Regions from separate parts of the Homo sapiens genome. Here region 1 is linked to region 2. Evidence: promoter capture Hi-C in human tissues and cell types (Jung and others, 2019). All regions are on one chromosome and are shown on one strand. Each heading gives the region's core, a stretch centred on a gene start or on the middle of the fragment in contact. The rest is flanking DNA. Distances are from core to core; before and after follow the strand shown. Region 1 overlaps RNF41 (ring finger protein 41). Region 2 holds the start of BAZ2A (bromodomain adjacent to zinc finger domain 2A).

Region 1 (5,803 bases), core at 2,344-4,843, 420 kb before region 2:
GGGAATATGGCAAAGGGAGGAAATCTGGGTTTCCCACCTGAAAGGCTGAGCAAACTACCCCAAGGCCCTTCAGTGCCAGAAGGGCAGGGAGATGTGTGGCTCAGGTATAAGCCACAGTATTAAGAATGGTGGGTAGGACTCAGGTCCCAGCTGCTGGAGTGATGGGATTTTCTGATTTCCATCTCTTCCTGATAGCCAGTCGAGTTCTCTTATATCTCTTCCACGCCATGCGCAAATATCATGACAAGGCCTGGCTCTTGCACCATGTCATCCCCCATGTGCTGGTTCTCACAGGCCATCACGACAACAGCCTGCTTGCCAGGGATGCGCTTGGCCACGTAGTTCTCATAGTAGCGTCGGTTCATCTGTCTAGTCTCTAGTGTGGCCAGACCCTGGGGCCAGCTACGCTCGTGGGCATTTTCAATCAGCTCGTTGACAATAGAAGCAGGACAGCCACTCTCCACCAGGGAGCGCTTGATTACAGCCTGGAGCACAGCATCAGGAGTCGAGATCATCCCTCCCCAGCGGGTCACTCTTGCTGGCTGAAGGGAGTTCACCCACCTGTGTGGAGGTGGTTAAAGATGGTCATTCCAGCTCATCTCCTTTCTCTGTATTGGCTTTTTCTGCTAATAGAAATAACTACCCACTCTGCACTCAGCTTACCTATTCTTCCTTCTTTCCTTCCATCATTGGCTCAGAAACCCCAAATCTTTCCCCACTTGGTCCCAACTGAGTCACCACATGTTACTCACCAGATTAAATTCCACAAGTCTGCACTCTGTCTCTGTTACTTTTCTTTGAAATTCCAATACTTAGCACATATAGCGCCTAACACAGTTAGTGCTCTATGTTTAGTGAATAAAACAATTATTCCTCTATCCTATGTCCCACTCAGCACTATTTGCCCTGTATATATTGATTCACACTTACAGTTTACTCTATGAACTGTATAGGACTCCAGAACTGAAAGAGATCTTAGACTTCACTTGTATACTTCGCTTGTTTTTGCTGCATTTTAGAGATCACTTTCCTGGACTTGCACTCTGCCTCCTCTTCTCTGGGTTGTAAGCTACCTGAAGACAGGACGATATCTTCTATTTCTTTTTGGCCCTCCTAGCACTCCACAGCCTTTAATACAGGGCTTTGTACATGGGTACTCACCTAATTCTGGATAAAGTGCATCCTTGGGCAGGCTTTCCCTCCATCCACCCAAACACATAAGACATCCTGTAGTGGAGCTAAGGGTTATCCTCTTCTCCTCTGCCCCTGTCCTTAATGCCAATATCTGAGAAGCAGTGACCCCCAGCCCAGCTCTCCAATGCCCTCCTTCTGCTACTCTCCTGCTCTTCCTCCTTTCAGGCCTTGTTGTCAGGACATGAAATCACTCCACGTCCTGAGTGACACTCACTCTAGGATCTCGTTGTATTCAATTGTCTCCTCCAGGTTCTGAAGGTTGGGGTTGACACTGCGGATTGCACGCATGTATGCCTTTAGCAGCTGGATGTCTCGCTTCTGTTGTGGGGAAGAAGAACAGGAATAATGGTTAAGGCAGACAGCAGAAAAAAGACAAAAGTTTATCCAAGAATGAGGGCAACTGAGAGATCTGAAGAACAACCAGTTTGTAAGCTTCAGGAAGACAGGGATAAGACTGTCTCACTCACAGCTGTCTCCTTAGTACTTACAAATGTGCCTTCACAGAGGAGGCATGTGATAACTGGTAGGTGAATTAATGCTATGAATGGGATGAAGAAAAGTCAAGGAGAGCTCCAATCTGATTCCCTGCTAAGCCACAGGCAGAATATCCACTCATCTAGGCTCACAAGTGTAAGCACTGGTCTGTGTGTTCACAACTGGTTTTTATTACCCACAGGCAGGCAGTTATCTGCATATGAGGGATATGTTCTCCCCCGTGTCTTGGGGCCTACCTGCTCCGCCAGCTGGTGTTTGTGTTCAGCTGACGTCTTCTCCAGCTCTGCGATGCGTGTCTGCTGCTGCTGTACCACTGAGCGCAGGTGCTTAATGCAGTTATGGTTGGGCAGCTCATCTTTGGGCATCTCCAGGCTGCAGACCAGGGTGGGGAAAGAGCAGAACAGAGGTGATCCCTGGGACATGTATGCAAATGGCCTATTCTGTGGCAGATAACTGCTAAGTAGATTTTGTCCTACCCAAAATTTCTAACATTCATTTCAGGCCTCCCTCTTGTTTATTCCCTTCACTTTCTTCGTCCAAGCTTCCTACTTGCCCCTTTGCTGTCTATTTTCCTTAAATTTCTTTCCCCAATCAAGACACAGTGTTTTATCTATTTTTTAAATTTATTTTATTTTGTATTTTTATTATTTTTTTTGACACGGAGTTTCGCTCTTGTTGCCCAAACTGGAGTGCGATGGCATGATCTCAGCTCAGCGCAACCTCTGCCTCCCAGGTTCAAGCGATTCTCCTGCCTCAGCCTCCCGAGTAGCTGGGATTACAGGTGCGCGCCACCATGGCCGGCTAACTTTTTGTATTTTTAGTAGAAATGGGGTTTCTCCATGTTAGCCAGGCTGGTCTCAAACTCCTGGCCTCACGTGATCTGCCCCCCTCGGCCTTCCAAAGTGTTGGGATTACAGGCGTGAGCCACCGCGCCTGGCCTTTTTTTTTTTTTTTCGAGACCAAGTTTCACTCTTGTCACCCAGGCTGGAGTGCAATGGCACGGTCTCAGCTCACTGCAACCTCCGCCTCATGGGTTCAAGTAATTCTTGTGCCTCAGCCTCCCGAGTAGCTGGGATTACAGGTGCCCACCACCACACCTGGCTAATTTTTATATTTTTAGTAGAGATGGGGTTTCACCATGTTGGCCACGCTGGTCTTGAACTCCTGACCTCAGGTGATCCGCCCGCCTCGTCCTCCCAAAGTGCTGGGATTACAGGCGTGAGCCACCGCACGGGGCCTATTTATTTATTTTGACACACTGTTTTTATCTACTGCACAGCTCTCCTTTTCCTCCTACAGATTCTGCCTGTGCACTTATTCCTTCAGAGAAGCCCTATATTCACAGCCCCAGCTATCAACATTCTTTTTATTTTTTAGTTAGGGGGAACAGAGTCTCATTCTGTCACCCAGGCTGGAGTGCAATGGCGCGATCTCAGCTCACTACAACCTCTACCTCTGGTTTTAAGTGATTCTCATGCCTCAGCCTCCTGAGTAGCTGGGATTACAGGCGAGCACCACCACACTTGGCTAATTTTTTTTTTTTTTTTTTGAGACGGAGTCTCGCTCTGTTGCCCAGGCTGGAGTGCAGTGGCTCAATCTCTGCTCACTGCAAGCTCCCCGTCCCAGGTTCATGCCGTTCTCCTGCCTCAGCCTCCCAAGTAGCTGGGACTACAGGTGCCTGCCACCACGCCTGGCTAGTTTTTTGTATTTTTAGTAGAGACGGGGTTTCAATGTGTTAGCCAGGATGGTCTCAATCTCCTGACCTCGTGATCCACCCGCCTTGGCCTCCCAAAGTGCTGGGATTACAGGCGTGAGCCACCGCGCCCGGCCCCACACCTGGCTAATTTTTGTATTTTTAGTAGAGACAAGGTTTTGCCATGTTGGCCAGGTTGGTCTTGAACTCCTGGCCTGAAGTGACTTGCCCACTTCGGCCTCCCAAAGTGCTAGGATTACAGGTGTGAGCTAACATGCCCTTCAGCTATCAACATTTAGTCGAATATTTCATAACCCACAGAAATAAAAAAATAGGGCAAGAGGAAATATGAGAAGGCTGGCAATTATAGCAGTCAACCTGACAAACGGAAAGTAGTATTGGACTGAAAGGGAAGAATAGAGTCAATCAAGCTTTAATGTTATTACACAAATTTACTAAATTGCTGTGCCCCTTCTTTTGTTAAAGCAAGAGCAAAATGATTATAGTTGGAAAAGCAGCAAGAAAGTAAGATCTTAGAGCAGGAAGCCAAGGAGGCTAAGAATACTCCTTGCCAACATGCCAAAGAGACCTCCTCAGCTAGTGAGGAGGGCAGCCAGAGACAGGGGCATAAATGAGATGGCCCTTATCCATGTGGGGCAGAAGGGAACAAATCTCACCCACAGCCCTGTTCACAGGTCACAGGCCGCTTCGGGTTGTGCTCACAGTCGCTGAGGTGAGACATGAGGTTGTCAAGCCGGACAACGGCACTACAGCCGAACACAGCGTTGTCACAGGCAATCTGCAGCTTTGACAACATGTTCCGCATGATCCGAGGTACTGGGCGCAGATGGGCGACCGTCACAACACTACGGTCCACTGGACATGTCTGTTGCTGAGAGAACCACTGGGTGATGCAGGCGTTGCAGAAAGCATGTTCACAATGAGGTGCCTAGAAGAGAGAACAAGGCAAAAGGGGCGCAAGGGAATTAGCAGGACCTAAGAGCCTGGATATGATATAACTCTACAAAGCCAATCAAGCCTTTGAGCAGCCTCTACGACAAGAGGTCCACTGGGTCACAGCAAAGTATAGATCTACTACGGGCAAGGCATTGTAGGGGACAGGCTTAAGATACGTTTCCTGCTGGGCACGGTGGCTCATGCCTGTAATCCCAGCACTTTGGGAGGCTAAGGCAGGCACACTGCTTGACCTCAGGAGTTTGAGACCATCCCAGACAACATGACAAAACCCCATCTCTACAAAAATTACAAAAATTAGCCGGGCATAGGCCGGGCGCAGTGGCTCACGCCTGTAATCTCAGCACTTTGGGAGGCCGAGGCAGGCGGATCATGAGGTCAGGAGTTCAAGACCAGCCTGACCGACATGGTGAAACCCTGTCTCTACTAAAAATAAAAAAATTAGCCAGGGGTGGTGGCGCATGCCTGTAATCACAGCTACTCAGGAGGCTAAGGCAGGAGAATAGCTTGAACCCAGGAGGTGGAGGTTGCAGTGAGCCAAGATCACACCACTGCACTCTAGCCTGGGCAATACATCTCGAAAAAAAAAAGCTGGGCCTGGTGGCACGTGCCTATAGTCCCAGCTAGCCAGGAGGCTGAGGTGGGAGGATGGAGGATGGCTTGAGCCCATAAGGCGGAGGTTGCAGTGAACCAAGACTGCACCACTGCACTCCAGCCTGGGTGACAGAGCCAGAACCTGTTTCAAAATAAATAAATAAATATATATATATATATTCCCTGTGCTCAAGATTAAAAATGAGTTGTGAAACAAGACAAACAAGTAAAAAGTTATATAACAATAAGAGATACAAATGATATTCTAGGACAATAGGACAGATGACACAAGGCAGCCAATTATTAATTGCCATCTGGATTGCATACACAATAATTGCCAAAAATGTCCAGAGGAGGGTGAGGTCTTTTCAGGCTAGCTCAATCACGGCAGGTATTTATGAAGAGGACAGAATTTGATATGGGTCTTGAAGGATAATTCAGATGATAGATTTAGAGAGGAGGAGGACATATTTACTGGCAAAAATTCAATGTAAGAAAGCTAGGCCAGGCATGGTGGATGGCGCCTGTAATCCCAGCACTTTGGGAGGCTGAGGTGGGCGGATAATGAGGTCAGGAGATTGAGACCATCCTGGCTAACATAGCGAAACCCTGTCTCTACTAAAAATACAAAAAATTAGCCGGGCGTGGTGGCGGGTGCCTGTAGTCTCAGCTATTTAGGAGGCTGAGGCAGAAGAATGGCGTGAACCTGGGAGGCAGAGCTTGCAGTGAGCCAAGATCATGCCACTGCACTCCAGCCTAGGCTAAAGTGTGAGACTCCATCTCAAAAAAACAAAACAAAACAAAGCTAAATAAGGCCGGGCATGGTGGCTCATGCCTGTAATCCCAGCACTT
Region 2 (5,686 bases), core at 1,045-3,544:
ATTAGCTGGATGCGGTGGCGGGCTCCTGTAATCCCAGCTACTCGGGAGGCTGAGACAGGCAACTCGCTTGAACCCGGGAGGCAGAGGTTGCAGTGAGACAAGATCACACCACTCCAGCCTGGGCGACAAAAGCAAAACTCCGTCTCAAAAAAAAAAAAAAAAAAAAAAGACAGAAAGAAAAAAAAAGAAAAGAAAAAGAAAAGAAAGAAAAATAAAATTCTGTGGCCAACTGTTGCCCCTAACCAAATCCAGTGTGCCACAAAATGCCTGGGGACATAGCACACAGTCCATCACTATATGTTACAGGAGAAATATCCTGGGATTATCAAGTGAAAAGAAAGAAAAAAAAAATCTGGGCACGACTTTGCAGGGAACAGAGGAAAAGCTTACCAATCTCCAAGAAGAATAAGAGGGGAGACGTTCTTTTATGGATTAAAGAGTAAGTCATATGATAACAAACTGTACTATTCTAATTAGTTGATTCTGCAGAAGGTAGTATCTCCAGCACCCCTTAGTCAAATAACAAGCTTCCCACAGGGGCTGCCCTTAGGCTAGAATCACCACCAAGGACTGAGTTCACCAATCTCAGTCTGTTAATCAGTCCCTACCCCCGACACACAAATCCATCTAATAGTTAAATCTTCCTCACCCCTTCCTCTTCGTCCATTTCTTAGAATCTACCCTTCTTCACAAGCTCACTTGCTCAGGTGCTCTGCAATATAGAAACTGTCATAATAACTATACTAAAGTAGGACCCCAAGAAGCTACTCGTGCCACAAAAGCTCTCTAGTCTCCCTGACAGCTCTCTATGCTGAGGGAATTTGCATCACTTACATAGAGCGTACCCCGCTGGTAGATAACTGAGTTTGCTTCTCTATGACCTCTAGCTAAAGGGAAAACAAAACGAAACCAGACAGGAAGACAGAGATGTTCTGGAGAAGGGATTGGGATACGTGAGTCAACTGAAGTTGACTACTTCCAGTTGACAAGTTTACAAAAAAAAAAAAAGTCCAACGAAAGGTCTCTCGGGCCACATGGTTGGCAAGATCCAAGCTTGCCCAGAAGGCTTCAGAAAATGAAACCAAATCTGATTAAAATGGACATTTCAAAACAACAAGACACGCAGCAGCAAACGCACAGCTGCCATTTCCCGGCCACTTCCTGCGGGAGGCTGGGGGAGGGGCTGTTTGTGTACAGATAGAGGTGGAAAGCTATCCCCTCCGTCGTCCCCCAAAGCAGACAAATCTCTCACTCCAATTAACCCTACAAAGGACAACTGCTATTGACATTGCCTTCTCCTGAAAACTGGGAACACCGGGAAAGAAAGGGATGATGCGGTATCATCTTTCTGCCACGGAAGCGGGGATCCCCTCAGTGAGGAATCTCCTTGGAAAAAGGAATTCCTCTTTATTCTTCCCTTCTGCCCCTCAGCCCAGCTCAAATTGGAAAGCCTCAGCGGAAGCCCTATCAACCTCCATCCCCGGAGTGCGCGATTCTCCCGGGACGCGAGGGCCCCAAGCCAAGCGCAGCACCACCCTCAGCAAGGAAGGCCCTCTCCTGATCTTCACGCTCAAGAGAATGGGTGCGCTCCCCGAGGGAGACACCCTCAGACCCCTGGAAACCCCTTCCGCCCTCCACTCACCACAGTCAAAACGCCCAGCTCCCCGCAAACGGAGCGTTTTAACCCGCCAAGGGAACCCCCTCACCCACCCCTCGCGCTCAGGCAATCCCCACCCCCACCCGAGGAGGTGGAGCCCCTCCCGGGGATTCCACCCCAAGTCCCCCACAGGAGTCATCTCCACCAGCCAGGCGGCTTCTCCGCCTCCTCACTGTCGCCGGGAGCCCCTACAGCTCCTCCTGCCCCCGCGGCCCCGTCCGGGGTCCTCAGCAGCCCCACCAGCCCTGTTCTCCTCCCAGACCCCAGAGCAAGGAGACCCTCGCCTCGGGTTGGATCCTCGCAGGAAATAAGCTCCCGTCGGCTTCCCGCCCCGGCAAGGCTCAAGCCGGCTCTGGAGCTTCTGTTCCCCGAGGGAAGCCTCGGATGAAAGCGGGGCTCCCTCCCCCTCAGGCCCCTGGCCACAGACCCCACAAACCTGAGGCAGCGGCGTCCAGCCGGGCTCGGGGCTCGTCTCTCCCCGGGGTACAAGCGGTTCACATGGCCGCGCTCCGGGCGCCAGAACGGGTGGAGACGCCCGCTGGGGAGGGGGTCTGGGGTCCGGGGTTCGGGAAGGGGGAGGGGGACGCGGCTCAACCGCGGGGCCCGAGAGGAGCCAACATGGCCGGCGGGGGAGGAGTGAGTCGGAGCCGGAGGGGGCGGAGAAGCCTCGGCCGGGAGAGAGTCTCCCCACGCGGCCTCCGCCACAGGGTCCTAAAGCCCGCCAGCCCATCTTTCCGACCCGGACCTGGGTCCTAGCGCCGCTGTGCCTCCTGCAACTCTGGCCACCTTGCCCACCTGGCAGCTCCCTCTGCACCCGCATCTCATGGAGGCAGTGGTCCTGCTTCACACAGGGCAAACTGAAAGGCATGCCACAGTCCCAAGGTTAACTTAAAAGACTAGACCAAACGTCTAGGCCCAAAGGCAGGTGCCACTTCTCTAACAGGCTGGTAGGGGTAAGAGTCAGGGGAATTTCGGGGGCAGTTATTTCCCAGGTAGGGTAATGGAAACGTGGAAATAGAAAGGTTAGTCACTCAGGTCGCGATTCAGTAAAGGGATGGGGAGAGGCAAGAGTCAGCCACCCACTCACCTCTGTCCCTTCAGTGCAGCCTGGTCCTGCCTGGATCACCACTTTCCTGGCGACATCTGCAGGGCCCTGGTCACCGGAAAGGAAAGATTCCTGTGCGTGGGGGAAAGAAGGTTCGGCTCTGGAACCAGACAGCAAAGACCTGAGTGTAGCCTAAATGCAGTCAGAGAAGTAAAGGATAAGCTGAAAACTAATCAGCAAAAAGATGCCACAAATGTCCACCCATTCTATGGTTCTGGGAATTTTTTTCTGACAGGGCTACATAACTGTGTGAAAACTCAGAAAAGTAAAATCTAGCAGAGGACTAGAGTTTGGCTGTCACCTAAAATGTCCACTGCAGGGCACCAGGATGAAGAACAGTGTCATATGATGTTAGAGCTTAGAGAATTTCTAGTTCAGGCCGGACGCGGTGGCTCACGGCTGTAATCCCAGCACTTTGGGAGGCCGAGGCAGGTGGATCATGATGTCAGGAGTTCAAGACCAGCCTGACCAACATGATGAAACCCGGTCTCTACTAAAAATACAAAAATTAGCTGGGTGTGGTGGCGTGCCCCTGTAATCTCAGCTACTCAGGAGGCCGAGGCAAGAGAATCGCTTGAACCTGGGAGGTGGAGGTTGCAGTGAACTGAGATCGCGCCATTGCACTCCAGCCTGGGTGACAGAGGGAGACTCTATCTCAAAAAAAAAAAAAAAAAAAAATTCTAGTTCAACCTTCTCTCCTTCATCAAATGAAGAAATTAAGACCCAAAGAGGTTCAATGACTTCTTCAATGTCAAACAGTGGATAAAATATGACAAGAAAGGAAACCAGGTTTCCTTTCCTTGCAACTCAACACTTTGCAGCCTTGAAGATAATTCCCATTTAATTCAATGCAATGCAGTTCTAGAAACAGTTGCCTAAACTGTGCAAAGCTCAGGCTGCTGAATATTCTGGAAAAGCAACAGAGTGGGGATGATGAAACTCTGGCAAGTTGGGGTGTCAACAAATACGTTTTCCTCTGGGGGTCTGAGGAGGAAAGAGATCTGAAAAATGGGCAGAGTTGGGGGGTGAGATCCATCAGTCTACATTGGATTTCCTTACTCCACAGAGGGGTGGGCTCTTCCTGAATTTTGGGGAAAGACTCCACCCCTCCACCCCCCCACTACAAATGGCTCAGAGAGGATAAGAAGGAAGCTAGCTTTAGCAAAGGCTCACAGAGTGTGTGGGCCACAGACACAGAAGGCTAAGGGGGTTTCTCTTCCTCTCTCGAGATAAGTAGATTACCAGTGGAGGGAATAGGCAGGTGGAAACCAAAACCCTTCTCTCCTCCCTGTCAAAACAACAGATTTACAGGTCACCTTGGGGAAAAAAAAATACTCCTCCAACAGCCTGCTGACCTCAAGTCCCTGAGTAAGTAGAGGTCACACTCAGGGTAGAGGTTTCCTTCCTTCTGGAGAAAGGAGGGCTCTGGCAAACTTCTGCTAAGAAATGCCTCTCTATCCCCAAATAAAAAATTAAGGCAGGTGAAGAAAGGCATAAAACTGAGGCCTCAAGGGCGGCGGGATGGGGGTGTGGGTAAGGAAGCTGGTATCCTTTTGTCTTCCCTGCCCTTTTCCAGAGCAGATGAGGGAGAATCTTCCTACCTCCTGCTCCCAATCTTAAAGGGGGCCAGTCGGGGACTGGGCAGGCAGGGGAGGAGCCTGCGCCCGTCAGACGGGTGTAGCCACGCCCCTCCCCACACCCACACACACCCACCACTGGCTCCACTCTGCTCCGGAAGAGCCGGTTACTCCTGTGCCCCACTGACCGCCCCCACCCCTTCCGAGCCCCAGGCCTAGTCTCCAGGGCAACCTTTAGGACTATTCCAGCCAGGAGCGGTTAGGAAGAGGGGTGTTGGATAGGAGAGGACCACTTGGGATTAGAAAAGAAAATGAGGTAGGATCCATTCTTCCCATCTGGTGCAGAAAGACTACAATCATCCTCATTCCTGAATGAGACCCCACCTCATCTCATCTAATCAGGATCTTCCTTGCTCTGAGGAAGGATGAGGTTGGGGTGACAGTGTGCCCAACAGCTGGATGTTTACTTCTTGCTAGAAGTCACCCCATGCTGCAGCTGTGCTTCTCCCCCCATCCAGACGAGAGAGGGCAGACTGACCCCAAATGTCCCGAAACACTCCTCAATCCCATCAGATGTGGCTGATCACCCACCCACCTCTCTTTTCCCCACCCATTTCCCTTCAGGAAGCTACTAGAAAGGGGAAGGGGCAAATGGTCATTTTATCAGCAACTTGTAAGGAGAGTCTCCAGGGAATAGGCTGAACCTCCCTCAAGCCAGGCCAGTGGACTAGTCATGAAGAGAATGGGGAGGGACAAATTAGCACCTGCACCCCCTTTCTCACCCTCCCTGTGTTCCTGCAGCACCTCCCTGACTCTGGGGTCAGCTGCCACAGTGCCTGGCTCCACTCTGTAGCCAGATGGCTAGGGCTGGGAGGAGGAAGAGAGAGAAGGGGATTCGTTTGCATCCCTCTACATCCTTCCCTCTCCCCCACCAGATACTCCTGGCATCCAACCCCAAACACCACTGCTGAACACCCTCTCCTCCCCCCAGCACCCCCTCCAAACATGACTTAGAAGAGTCTGAAGCAGATCTTGGCAGCCAGTCCCCTAATTCTGGAAGTGAGGAGTGGGAAATGAAAGAGCATAGCTAGGGGCGCAGCTGGACTGGGGGTGGAGGGGGAATTCTCTAATGGAGGTGGGATAATTATTAAAGACCTGCCTTCCCCTCACTGGCTGAATGGATCATACTGTTAACAGGATCTGTCTAGCAGGGAGATGGCTCTTAGCCGGGTAACCATTCCAACTAGACCCCCCCACCAGGTTAAAGCAAAAGTCTTCACCCCCTCTACAATCTGGGAAGGCTAGATTCTCCCATAACACATCACAAGGAAAACACCCCTCCCCTTC

The links. Contacts are between HindIII fragments. The study calls those that stand out against the background at their distance.
Region 1: a contact is called between a fragment that was not itself captured here and the fragment with the promoter of BAZ2A in region 2, in 1 of the 25 tissues and cell types used here (hippocampus).

The regions. Positions count from the first base shown.
Region 1 is chr12:56,206,238-56,212,040 of GRCh38, forward strand. RNF41 (ring finger protein 41) reads right to left here. Exons shown (of 7, transcript NM_005785.4): 4 at 4,060-4,331; 5 at 1,926-2,061; 6 at 1,409-1,512; 7 at 1-561. The coding sequence ends at 210. Among named protein-coding and RNA genes, the nearest start is that of RNF41, 13 kb to the right of the region's middle. RefSeq lists a silencer at 1,893-1,942. The HindIII fragment of the contact is 6,706 bases long and covers 241-5,803 here.
Region 2 is chr12:56,628,032-56,633,717 of GRCh38, forward strand. It overlaps BAZ2A (bromodomain adjacent to zinc finger domain 2A), which reads right to left and starts at 2,295. Exons shown (of 29, transcript NM_001300905.2): 1 at 2,094-2,295. RefSeq lists a silencer at 1,882-2,231 and enhancers at 2,452-2,501, 2,532-2,601, 5,151-5,200. The HindIII fragment of the contact is 8,774 bases long and covers 791-5,686 here.